2 separate regions of the Homo sapiens genome follow, and region 2 is linked to region 1. Evidence: promoter capture Hi-C in 16 types of primary human blood cells and fetal thymus (Javierre and others, 2016). All regions are on one chromosome and are shown on one strand. Each heading gives the region's core, a stretch centred on a gene start or on the middle of the fragment in contact. The rest is flanking DNA. Distances are from core to core; before and after follow the strand shown. Region 1 holds the start of SCML1 (Scm polycomb group protein like 1). Region 2 holds the start of EIF1AX-AS1 (EIF1AX antisense RNA 1).

Region 1 (4,940 bases), core at 2,256-4,755:
TCCCTATTTGGATTAATAACAATGTTGTCAAAATTTGGCTGTAGTTAGACACAGGAGCACTGTGCAGTGAGTCCACCACTGGACTCCCAACATGTTTACATCTCTGGTACATATACAAATCAACACCAATCTTTCACTCTTTGAGCTTCTCGCTCCTGTTATGCCCTCCGTCCATAATACCCTGTTGTGTCTCCGCCTAGGAGAATCTATTCAACTTCAAGGCTTACTTCAAGTTTCACCTCCAAAAAGCAAGGGCACCATGCCAATGATCATCCCATGTGGATGTGACACGGCTTTCCCTGAACTACAATAACACTCACACTTTAATACTTCTACGGCAACTGTCACACATATCTGGTTACATGAGAGGCAGCATCAAACAGCATTAAGACCTTAGGCTTGTGGTCAGAATACCTGGGTTTGGGTCCCACCTCCCCCACATACTAGCTGTGTAAGTAAGTTGAACAACTTACTTAAATCCTTTTTTTTTTTTGTCTGTAAAATGGGAATGATAATAGCACATACCTCACGGAATCGTGAGGATTAAATTAATACATGTCAAGTGCTTAGAGTAATGCATGGCAAAGATAGCAAGGGCTTTTGAGTATTGACCGCATCTATCCAACAGAACTATTTCTCAAGGAGCACATAGACAACAAGCCTGGGTCATAACGTCATTTTCATTCACATTGCACCTGAAGTGAGTTTTTATGTCTTTTAGGTACCAGGGTATGATGCAAGGAGCTGGGCTTTAGTTATAAACACTTGAATCCAAGTCCAAATTGCCAAATTTGCCGTTTCACTTTAGGCAAATATTTCACCTCTCTGTGCCTCAAATTTTCTAACCTGTAAAGTTGGAATAATATCTACTTCACAGGGCTATTTAGGCCAAAAATTACACAGTTAAACTCTCAGCATCATGCCTGGTTCATAGTAGACACACCATAAATTTTAATTCCTTTTCACTTCTTCCCATAAGGCAAACAATTACAGCTTTACAACATTGCCTTAGAGCCCAACCATGACTAGAATGTGCAAAATTAATTTCATTTTTAAATCTCAAATCCCACAAAATGAGTTTACTTAAAATGAAACTCATTTATATTTACCACAGAAATCTAAATTTCTTTTTTTTTTTTTTTTTTTTTTGAGACAGAGTCTTACTCTGTCACCCAGGCTGGAGTGCAGTGGCATGATCTCGGCTTACTGCAACCTCTGCCTCCCGGGTTAAAGCAATTCTCCTCCCTCAGCCTCCCGAGTAGTTAGCGTAACAGGCTTGCACCACCATGCCCAGTTAATTTTTGTACTTTTAGTAAAGACTGGGTTTCACCATGTTGGCCAGGCTGGTCCCGAACTTCTGACCTCAAGTGATCTGCCCACCTCGGCCTCCCAAAGTGCTGGGATTACAGGTGTGAGCCACCGCGCCTGGCCAATTCTTGATAACACCATAAATTTAAGTTCCTTTTCACTTTTTCCCACAAGATAAATTACAGCTTTACAACATTTTCTCAGAGCCCAACCATGACTAGATTCTACAAAATTAATTTCACTTTTAAACCTCAAATTCCACAAAAATGAGTTTAAAGGAAACTCATTTATATTTACCCCGGAAATCTAAACTCTTGATAATACCACACATTTTAGTTTCTTCTCACTTCTTCCCACAAGATAAATAATTTCAGCTTTACAACATTTTCTCAGAGCCCAACCATGACTACACTGTGCAAAATGAATTAATTTCACTTTTAAATCTCAAATCCCGTAAAAATGAGTTTACTTAAAATGAAACTCACTTGCATTTACCACAGAAATTTAAACTCTTAATTACACCATATACCTTAATTCCTTTTCACTTCTTTCCATAAGATAAATCACAACTTTACAACATTTTCTGAGCCCAACCATGACTAGATTGTGCGAAATTAATTAATTTCACTTTTAAATCTCAAATCCCATAAAAATGAGTTTACTTAAAATGAAACTCACTTGTATTTACCACAGAAATTTAAACTATTCATTACACCATACACTTTAGTTCCTTTTCACTTCGTCCCACAAGATTAATTACAGCTTTACAACATTTTCTCAGAGCCCAAGGCTAGATTGTGCAAAATTAATTAATTTCACTTTCAAATCTCAAATCTCGTAAAATGAGTTTACTTAAAATGAAACTCACTTATATTTACCACAGAAATCTAAACTCTTGATAACATAAGAACAAGAGGCCGTCTGATTTTCTAAAAGACTTTTTTTAGACATTAAAGACATTTTCAAAAGTCGTAAATATTCGCTCCGGAGGCGCAAGGCTTTCACCTGCCATTAATTCATCAGATAAGGCACAGCTCACAATGAGGCGCCACTCCCACCGGGACCACTTTGAGGAACACACAGCAAAACGCTCTGTTTGTTTTAAGAACAATCACTTTCTAAACCTTCCTGCGGGACTCTCAAAGGCAGCCCTTCCTTTGCCGCCAGAACCGCATCCCATCGCCCAGCACTTGCCGCAGGCCGGACAAGTGAGGCCCAAAAGGGCACCCAGCCCACGCCCCGCTTTAGAAAACACCGCGCGGCAAAGCTGCTTGGAAAATCGCTATCTTTTAGTCAACCTGAAGCCAGTTTGCCGCACTCGGGGAGAGCCGGGGAGAGGAGGGAGGGACGCGATCCGCCACCAACCAAATCAGGGCCTTTCCTGTTAACGACCACGCGGCAAGGGGGCCGGGCCCTCGCACGCCTCGACGGCCTCCCCCACTCCAAAGGGACTCCGATTTCGCAGGATCTCCCGCCTCCCGCCTCTGCTCCCAACACCCTACGTTTTTCTCTTCCTCCTCATTTACGTATTTACAATAAAACAGCGAAGCTGCACAGTCTGTCTCTAAATCAAACGCGGTTACCATCAAAGCCTCAGACTCTATGTCTCAACCGCAAAAGGTCTGACAGGAAATCAACTCGGGAGTTTGTCAATTCTTTAAACTCAAAGCTCTGTTAACGAAATCTGGATCCTTCCTCGCTCCCCACCTGCCTCCCCTGACAGGAGAATGACTGTAAAAGGATCCTGTCGTCCCCGAAAGTCAGCACCAAGCACTTCACAAATTGTCAAATCTCAAAAGCTTACACGCGCGGGCACTCCGGAAAGGCTGTGGGGACCACCCAAAGCACCCCCCTCCACACCGCGGCTGAAATTGGAGGCTGCGAAGTCAAGACTCGCTCTTCCCCGCAAAGCAAACCCTCTCTCCTCAGGAGAGCCCCGGCCCCTAAGCCAAATCGTGTATTCCCGTGACGGAAAGTTCAAGGTGAGGAAAAAGTACGACTGGACAGACCTATTTTAGTGACAGAGCCTGTCACGCCGGCCTCCGGAGGTCGCGGTAAAACTGCTCGCAGTAGTCCTGCCTCTCCGATGGGCGACAGCTGTGACCGTTAGGCCACTCGACGCTTCGGAAAGGTCCTGGCACCGGAAACCGGGCCTGGTCACGCGCACGCGAGACCAGTGATGCCCTGACCCCTGAGTGGATCAGAGAGCTCCCGCGACGCCGAATTCCCACACTCGCGGTTGGGGGGGGGGGGGGGGGGGGGGGGGGCGGGACTACCCGCTGACCAATCGGAGTCTGGCCACTGACAGGCGTCACCGTTGATCGGCCAATCCGCGGGTGCTCTCCCAGTCCTTGGGTGAGGGCGGGAATTTGCTAAGGAGATGGCTGTGGGGCGGGGCCGAGGGCGGGAATTTGCTGAGGAGATAGCTGTGGGGCGGGGCCGAGGGCGGGAATTTGCTGAGGAGATGGCTGTGGGGCGGGGCCTCTTACCTCAGGTTTTCCTTCGCAAGACCCGCAGGATTGAAAATGGACGTTAGGCCTTTCAGAGACTCGCGCGCTGAGTGGTTTCTGCGGCTGCGCAGGAGGCTGGCGCGCATGCGCAACCCTTCTAGTGGCGTTGTAGTTAGGGACGTGGTGTCCCCCCTTCGTTGTTGGGGTGTCCGAAGCTTTTTTTTTTTTTTAATGTGATCCCGCCCCTCCCCCGCGCTCTGTGACGCACCAGAGACGTCGTCGTAAACTGGGTTTCCTGGACGCACGCCAGTGATTGACTTGGAATGAGGAGAGGGGCGGGGCCTTAGCAGTTGCCCTGAGCCAGGTCTGGTAGGAAGGGCGAGGGGGGCCAGGGTGGGGGGCGGGCAAGATATTTCCAGTCTCCAGCACCCACAAGTTGGACTGGGGAACTAACGCAGACCTTGAAGGCAGATTTACTGGATTGGACCCCCAGCTCCAACACAGTCCTCCTATGGCCTTAGGCAAGCCAAGTAACCGCTTTGTGCTTCGGTTTCCCCATCTGTAAAATGGGTATAATATGGGGACTACATGAGTTAATGTATGCAAAGCACTTAGAACAGTACCTGGCATAGAATTTTGCTATTGTAATAAAGGCTATGTGACATCATCTAGTGGCATATAGTCTTACATACTTATATCGAGGCTGCTCATCTTGGGAAGGAGACACAGTCTGAGTAATTATCAGAAGCAAAGCAGGCAGATATTTCAAAGTAAAGCTATACATCTTTTCTTGGCCCAGAGAGGAGCTACAAAGAAAGTATACTGGACGTTGGAAATGTATCATTTTTCCTCTCAAATACGAAGCTAGATTAAAGCCCATTATAGATATAGTATATGTTTTTTTTTTGTTTTTGTTTTTGTTTGAGACGGAGTTTTGCTCTTGTTGCCCAGGCTGGAGTGTAGCGGTGTGATCTCGGCTCACTGCAACCTCTGCCTCCTGGGTTCAAGCGATTCTCCTGCCTCAGCCTCCAGAGTAGCTGGGATTACAGGCGTCTGCCACCATGCCCAGCTAATTTTTGTATTTTTAGTAGAGACGGGTTTCACCATGTTGGACAGGCTGGTCTATGTTCTTTTTGCTCCTACTTTTGCCATAACAGACCCTGCCCTTATGTCCTGTTGCCT
Region 2 (4,940 bases), core at 1,643-4,142, 2.4 Mb before region 1:
TCCCATCAGGCTCCCAACCCGGCTGGGCGAGTGAAAGGACTGCGTTATGAGCTAACCGGCTGGGCACGGTGGCTGACGCCTGTAATCCCAGCACTTTGGGAGGCCGAGGTGGGCGCGAGTTGAGGTCACGAGTTCGAGACCAGCCTGGCCAACATGGTGAAACCCCGTCTCAACTAAAAGTACTAAAATTACCTGGGCATGGTGGCACATGCCTGTAATCCCAGCTACTCGGGAGGCTGAGGCAGGAGAATCGCTTGAGCCCGGGAGGCGGAGGTTGTAGTGAGCCGTGATCGCGCCACTGCACTCCAGCCTGGGCGATAGAGCAAGACTCCATCTTAATAAAAAAATTAAAATATTGGCCGGGCGCGGTGGCTCACGCCTGTAATCCCAGCACTTTGGGAGGCCGAGACGGATGGATCACGTGGTCAGGAGTTCAAGACCAGCCTAGCCAAGATGCTGAAACCCCGTCTCTACTAAAAACACAAAAATTAGACGGGCGTGGCGGCACGTGCCTGTAATCCCGGCTACTCCGGAGGCCGAGGCAGGAGAATCGCTTGAACCCGGGCGGCAGAGGTTGCAGTGAGCCGAGATCGCGCCACTGCACTCCAGCCTGGGCGACTCTAGAGCAAGACTCCGTCTCAAAAAATAAAATAAAAATAAAAATATACATATTTTTTAAAAACTGAGCTAACCACGAGGTTAACGAGTCAGCCACTTGTGAAACCGGGAGACGCGCGTTTGCTACAAAGCAGCAGAGGTCTGGTCTTAACCAGCAGCAAGCGCCACCTCAACCCGCCCTTTTCTATGACGCAGAGTCTCTCCCCCTCCCTCCCTGACTCCGCCTTTTCCCTGCTTGAGGCCCTGCCCCTCGCGTCCTCTCTGGCTTGCTGCGCACCCTCCCACAACGCGTCTCCCTCGGCTCTAACAATAGGAGTCAGTCGGCCACGCCTGCGTCATAAAGCCTGGGGGCGGGCCCAGCCGGCGACGGGAGGCGGGGAAAAGCGACGCAAAGAGTCGCGGCGCCATTTGCTGCCGCCGAGCGTGGACGCAGGCGGATCTCTGAAGAGCTGGGTCGCCAGCCTCTCCCGCGCACGTTGCCTGGCCTCCAGCACCTACTTGGTCCCGCGCGCTCCCTCGTGTCGCCCCTCGGAGCAGCAGCCGCCGCGGTCGCCGCTACCCGGAAAGAAGTCAGAGACGCCGCGAGGTCGCCGCCACCGCCATGCCCAAGAATAAAGGTAATGCCGCCCGGACCCCCGGACCACGGCTCTGCTCGGCCGGGTCTCCCAGGTCCTGCCCGTAGATTGCAGGTCACCCAGGCCGCAGTGACCCTTTTTCCTTCCCGCCCTGCCTGCCCGCGGCTGGGCGCCCCACACGCGACTCTGAGCTCGGGAGAGGAGCTGGGAAGTTAACTCCTGTTGCCCAGTTTGGTCACATTGGGGTGGAGCCGGCGCCATTTTTGTAGGGCCTCCTGCGGGAGAATGTGGGCTTTTGCTCCTGATTCGCGCCAGACTGACCGCTGCTCGGTGGGGACGGTGGCGGGAACCTTCCCCGGGGCGGCCTAGGTTTAGTAGATAGGCCCCTTTGGCCTTCCCGGGCATGAGGGGTTATAATCCCTGGAAGCCGTTCTGAACTTTCAGAGTGCTGTCTGCATTCGTGAGCACCAGGTACTCCTGCATGGGTTTCTTTATGGACAGTTCAGTATTGTTGAGGCTACTCGCTGTCCCTTGTGAACAGTGGGTGAAACCTTGATACATTTCTAAGGCTCACCTCTAGAGATTTACTCTCTCCATCCCTTTACAGGATATAGCTTATGTTTGTTTGCTGAAGACTTATTCCATATTGAGCCAAGTTTTCTACTTTTGCTTCAGATGATGCATATGTTGTGAGAATAAAGACCTAATTTAAGTGTCCTCCATTCTGAGGCTAAGCGTTCACAAATGATCAGACTTGAGGATAACTTTATTTGGGATTTCCAAAACGGAAGGCCTAATCTTAAAAAAAAAAAAACAAAAACAAAAAACAGAACACTCCTAAAGAAATTACTTTTATAGATTTACAGTGTTCCTGTCATTTTTAATAGCCGTATAACTTGAAGAAAATTGTGCAAGTAAATATAGGGAAAATACTGTATTTTCCTACAGGAGAGGAGCATACTTCATAGTCCGTAAGTAGTCTCCTTTGATTATTCATTCTAGAGGAAACCCTCCCCTGACACAGGCCTACTTCTGCTCTCTTTTCTACTTGACAGCTGGCTCCAGGGATTCTACCACATTTCCTCTTTGTAGCTGTCACTTATTACTTTATCCCTTAGGGTACTTGGTCGAGGTGTTCTGTGCACAAGTTGGTGCAGTCACTGCTCATTATTTTGGAAAAGATGGAGTTATAAACAAAAAATTTTAAAGTCTTACAGTTTTCTTCTGTATAATCCTTTATTCTCTCTGAGGTGGTAAGGGGATCACTTCCATCTTATTCTCACCTTTATTTCTAGTAATAAGATTTCCAATTCTTCCACCAGGCTGTAAGCTCTACAAGGCAGGAATAGTATCTGTCTTAATCTCATTGGATTGCCAGCACTTGACAATTAGTAGATGCTTAATAAATATTTGTTGGTTTAAGTCACCTACCTCCTGTCGACTCCACCCTTAGTGAATAATAGGTTCTGCTTTGGTTCCAAGGGGATAGGACTTCTACACTAAATCACATCTAGTTCCCTAGCCTCATGTCTTAAGAAAGAGCCTCTCTGGGAATTTCTCCAAAACAACTCTGGTTTAAAGAATGTTGATGTCACTTTAATTGTTGTACACTCAGACCTAGTCTCATTCATTCAACAGAGAATTTAAAGAACATCCCATTACATGGCAATAAAATACAAAGGGGAGTGATCCGGGTATGGTTAATTCTGGTAAATTGACAAGTAATTAGTCTTTTCTTAAATAACATTTGAGGCATACAAAAAATACAGCTAACATGATATACCTGGGAACCCATTACTCTGAATTTAAGAATTACAGCGCAGATTGAGGTAAAGCCCTAATCACCTTTTACTCTCTTTTTGGAGGTAATCACCAGGCTGAGTTTGGTGTTTATCATTCCTGTACTGTCTGAAACCAATCAGTTCTTAGTTATCTTACTTAGAGGAATGGTACTTTTCATGACCTAATTTAAGTGTCCTCCATTTTTTTTTGCTGCTTCCAAGCTCTTCCCATGAGTCTCTTAGGGTCATTACCACTTACAGCCTTTTTCCTGCCTTTTGGAAATGGCTGCCAATGTGGTTTCCTTTCTGGAATGGGAGCAAAATGCTGTGGAGAGGTAAGCTTATGTGGGGGCTAGGGGCAAAAAAAACATTGTGACTTTGGTCACCCCAGCTTACTGACTGTAATCAGTGAACTGATTTACTCACTGAAGCTAAGCGACTTACTTAACTTCTCTGAGCTTCAGGGAACTCATGGGTAAACTGGGAATAAATGAATGTTATGACCTCATGGGGTGATTGTGACAAGTAAATGGGCAGAATTATTGCATAGTGGTTAAGAGCATGGTCACTGGGGTCATATAATAGAAACAGGGATGTTGAGTAGGGACCAGCATTATAAAAGAAAGTAAATTGGGTACCGAACAGATCTTCTTTATTTTTTAAGAGACAGTGTCTCGCTATGTTGCCCAGGCTAGCCTGGAACCTCCTGGGCTTGCTCAAGTGATCCTCCCACCTGAGCCTCCTGAGTAGCTGAGACCCTAGGCGCACACCACTGCACCCAGTGAGATTTCAATATTTATGGTACTCTGCTACCAAAAGTTTGAAAACCACAGTTCTCTGTCCAGACACTGTCTTCACTTAATTTTGAAAGTATCGGGTTCCTTGCATAGGGCCTGGCTTTAGAAGACACCCAAGATTTCCGCTTAGAAGAATATGTATAGAATTGCATTTTTATTTCAAAAGGATGGGTGCTAAAGTGAAATGTTTTTCTATATTTTTTAACATAATATCTGCTATTTATGTGTATTTTATGTCAGAAAAATCCCCAAAGGAAATTCCAAGAAGGGTAGGGAGGTGATAATGTGTTAATGTTGGGATTGGAGATTGTAAATTTAATATGATTGTGTAGCTAAAATAGATGAATTTTTTAATTTAAGTGATCTTTTAAAAAATGGTTTTATAAGCCTTAATTTCATTTTATTTCATACTGTTTTACAGATAATTAATGTCATTTACCTCCTTTTCTTTTTTTTAAACCATCAGGTAAAGGAGGTAAAAACAGACGCAGGGGTAAGAATGAGAATGAATCTGAAAAAAGAGAACTGGTATTCAAAGAGGATGGTCAGGGTAAGTGTTTTCATAAATTACGCTTTTTAAAATAACATCCTTTCTTTTTTAGCTGGGGACTTTATTTTTTTGAGACAGCGTCTTGCCCATCGCCCAGGGTGAAGTGTGGTGGCACGATTACAGCCCACTGCAGCCATGACCTCCTGGGCTGAAGCAGTCCTTCCACTTCAGCCTCCCGAGTATTTGGGACTACAGGCACACACCACCACGTCTGGCTAATTTTAAAAATTTTTTTAGGCTGGGCGCAGTGGCTCACGTCTGTAATCCCAGCACTTTGGGAGGCCAAGGCGGGCGGATCACGAGGTCAGGAGTTCGAGACCAGCCTGACCAACATGATGAAACCCCGTCTCTACTAAAATTACAAAAATTAGCTGGGTGTGGTGGCACGTGCCTGTAATCCCAGCTACTCAGGAGGCTGAGGCAGGAGAATTGTTTGAACCTGGGAGGCGGAGGTTGCAGTGAGCCGAGATCACACCACTGCACTCCAGCCTGGGTGACAGAGGGAGACTCTGTCTCAAAAAAAAAAAAAAAAAAAAAAAAAAAACTGTATAGAGATGAGGTCTTCATATGTTGCCCTGGCTATTCTCGAACTCCTGGGCTCAAGTGATTCTCCCACCAT

The links. Contacts are between HindIII fragments. The CHiCAGO score rates a contact against its expected background, and 5 or more counts as called.
Region 2: a contact is called between the fragment with the promoter of EIF1AX-AS1 here and the fragment with the promoter of SCML1 in region 1, in 1 of 17 cell types (non-activated CD4 T cells). The highest score is 5.7, in non-activated CD4 T cells.

What each region holds. Positions count from the first base shown.
Region 1 is chrX:17,736,058-17,740,997 of GRCh38, reverse strand. It overlaps SCML1 (Scm polycomb group protein like 1), which reads right to left and starts at 3,505. Exons shown (of 8, transcript NM_001037540.3): 1 at 3,318-3,505. The HindIII fragment of the contact is 866 bases long and covers 3,110-3,975 here.
Region 2 is chrX:20,137,920-20,142,859 of GRCh38, reverse strand. EIF1AX-AS1 (EIF1AX antisense RNA 1) reads right to left here and starts at 2,892. Exons shown (of 2, transcript NR_046592.2): 1 at 2,625-2,892; 2 at 2,416-2,525. EIF1AX (eukaryotic translation initiation factor 1A X-linked) reads left to right here and starts at 1,022. Exons shown (of 7, transcript NM_001412.4): 1 at 1,022-1,235; 2 at 4,238-4,321. The coding sequence starts at 1,220. RefSeq lists enhancers at 911-960, 1,021-1,290, 1,621-1,780. The HindIII fragment of the contact is 4,524 bases long and covers 1-3,316 here.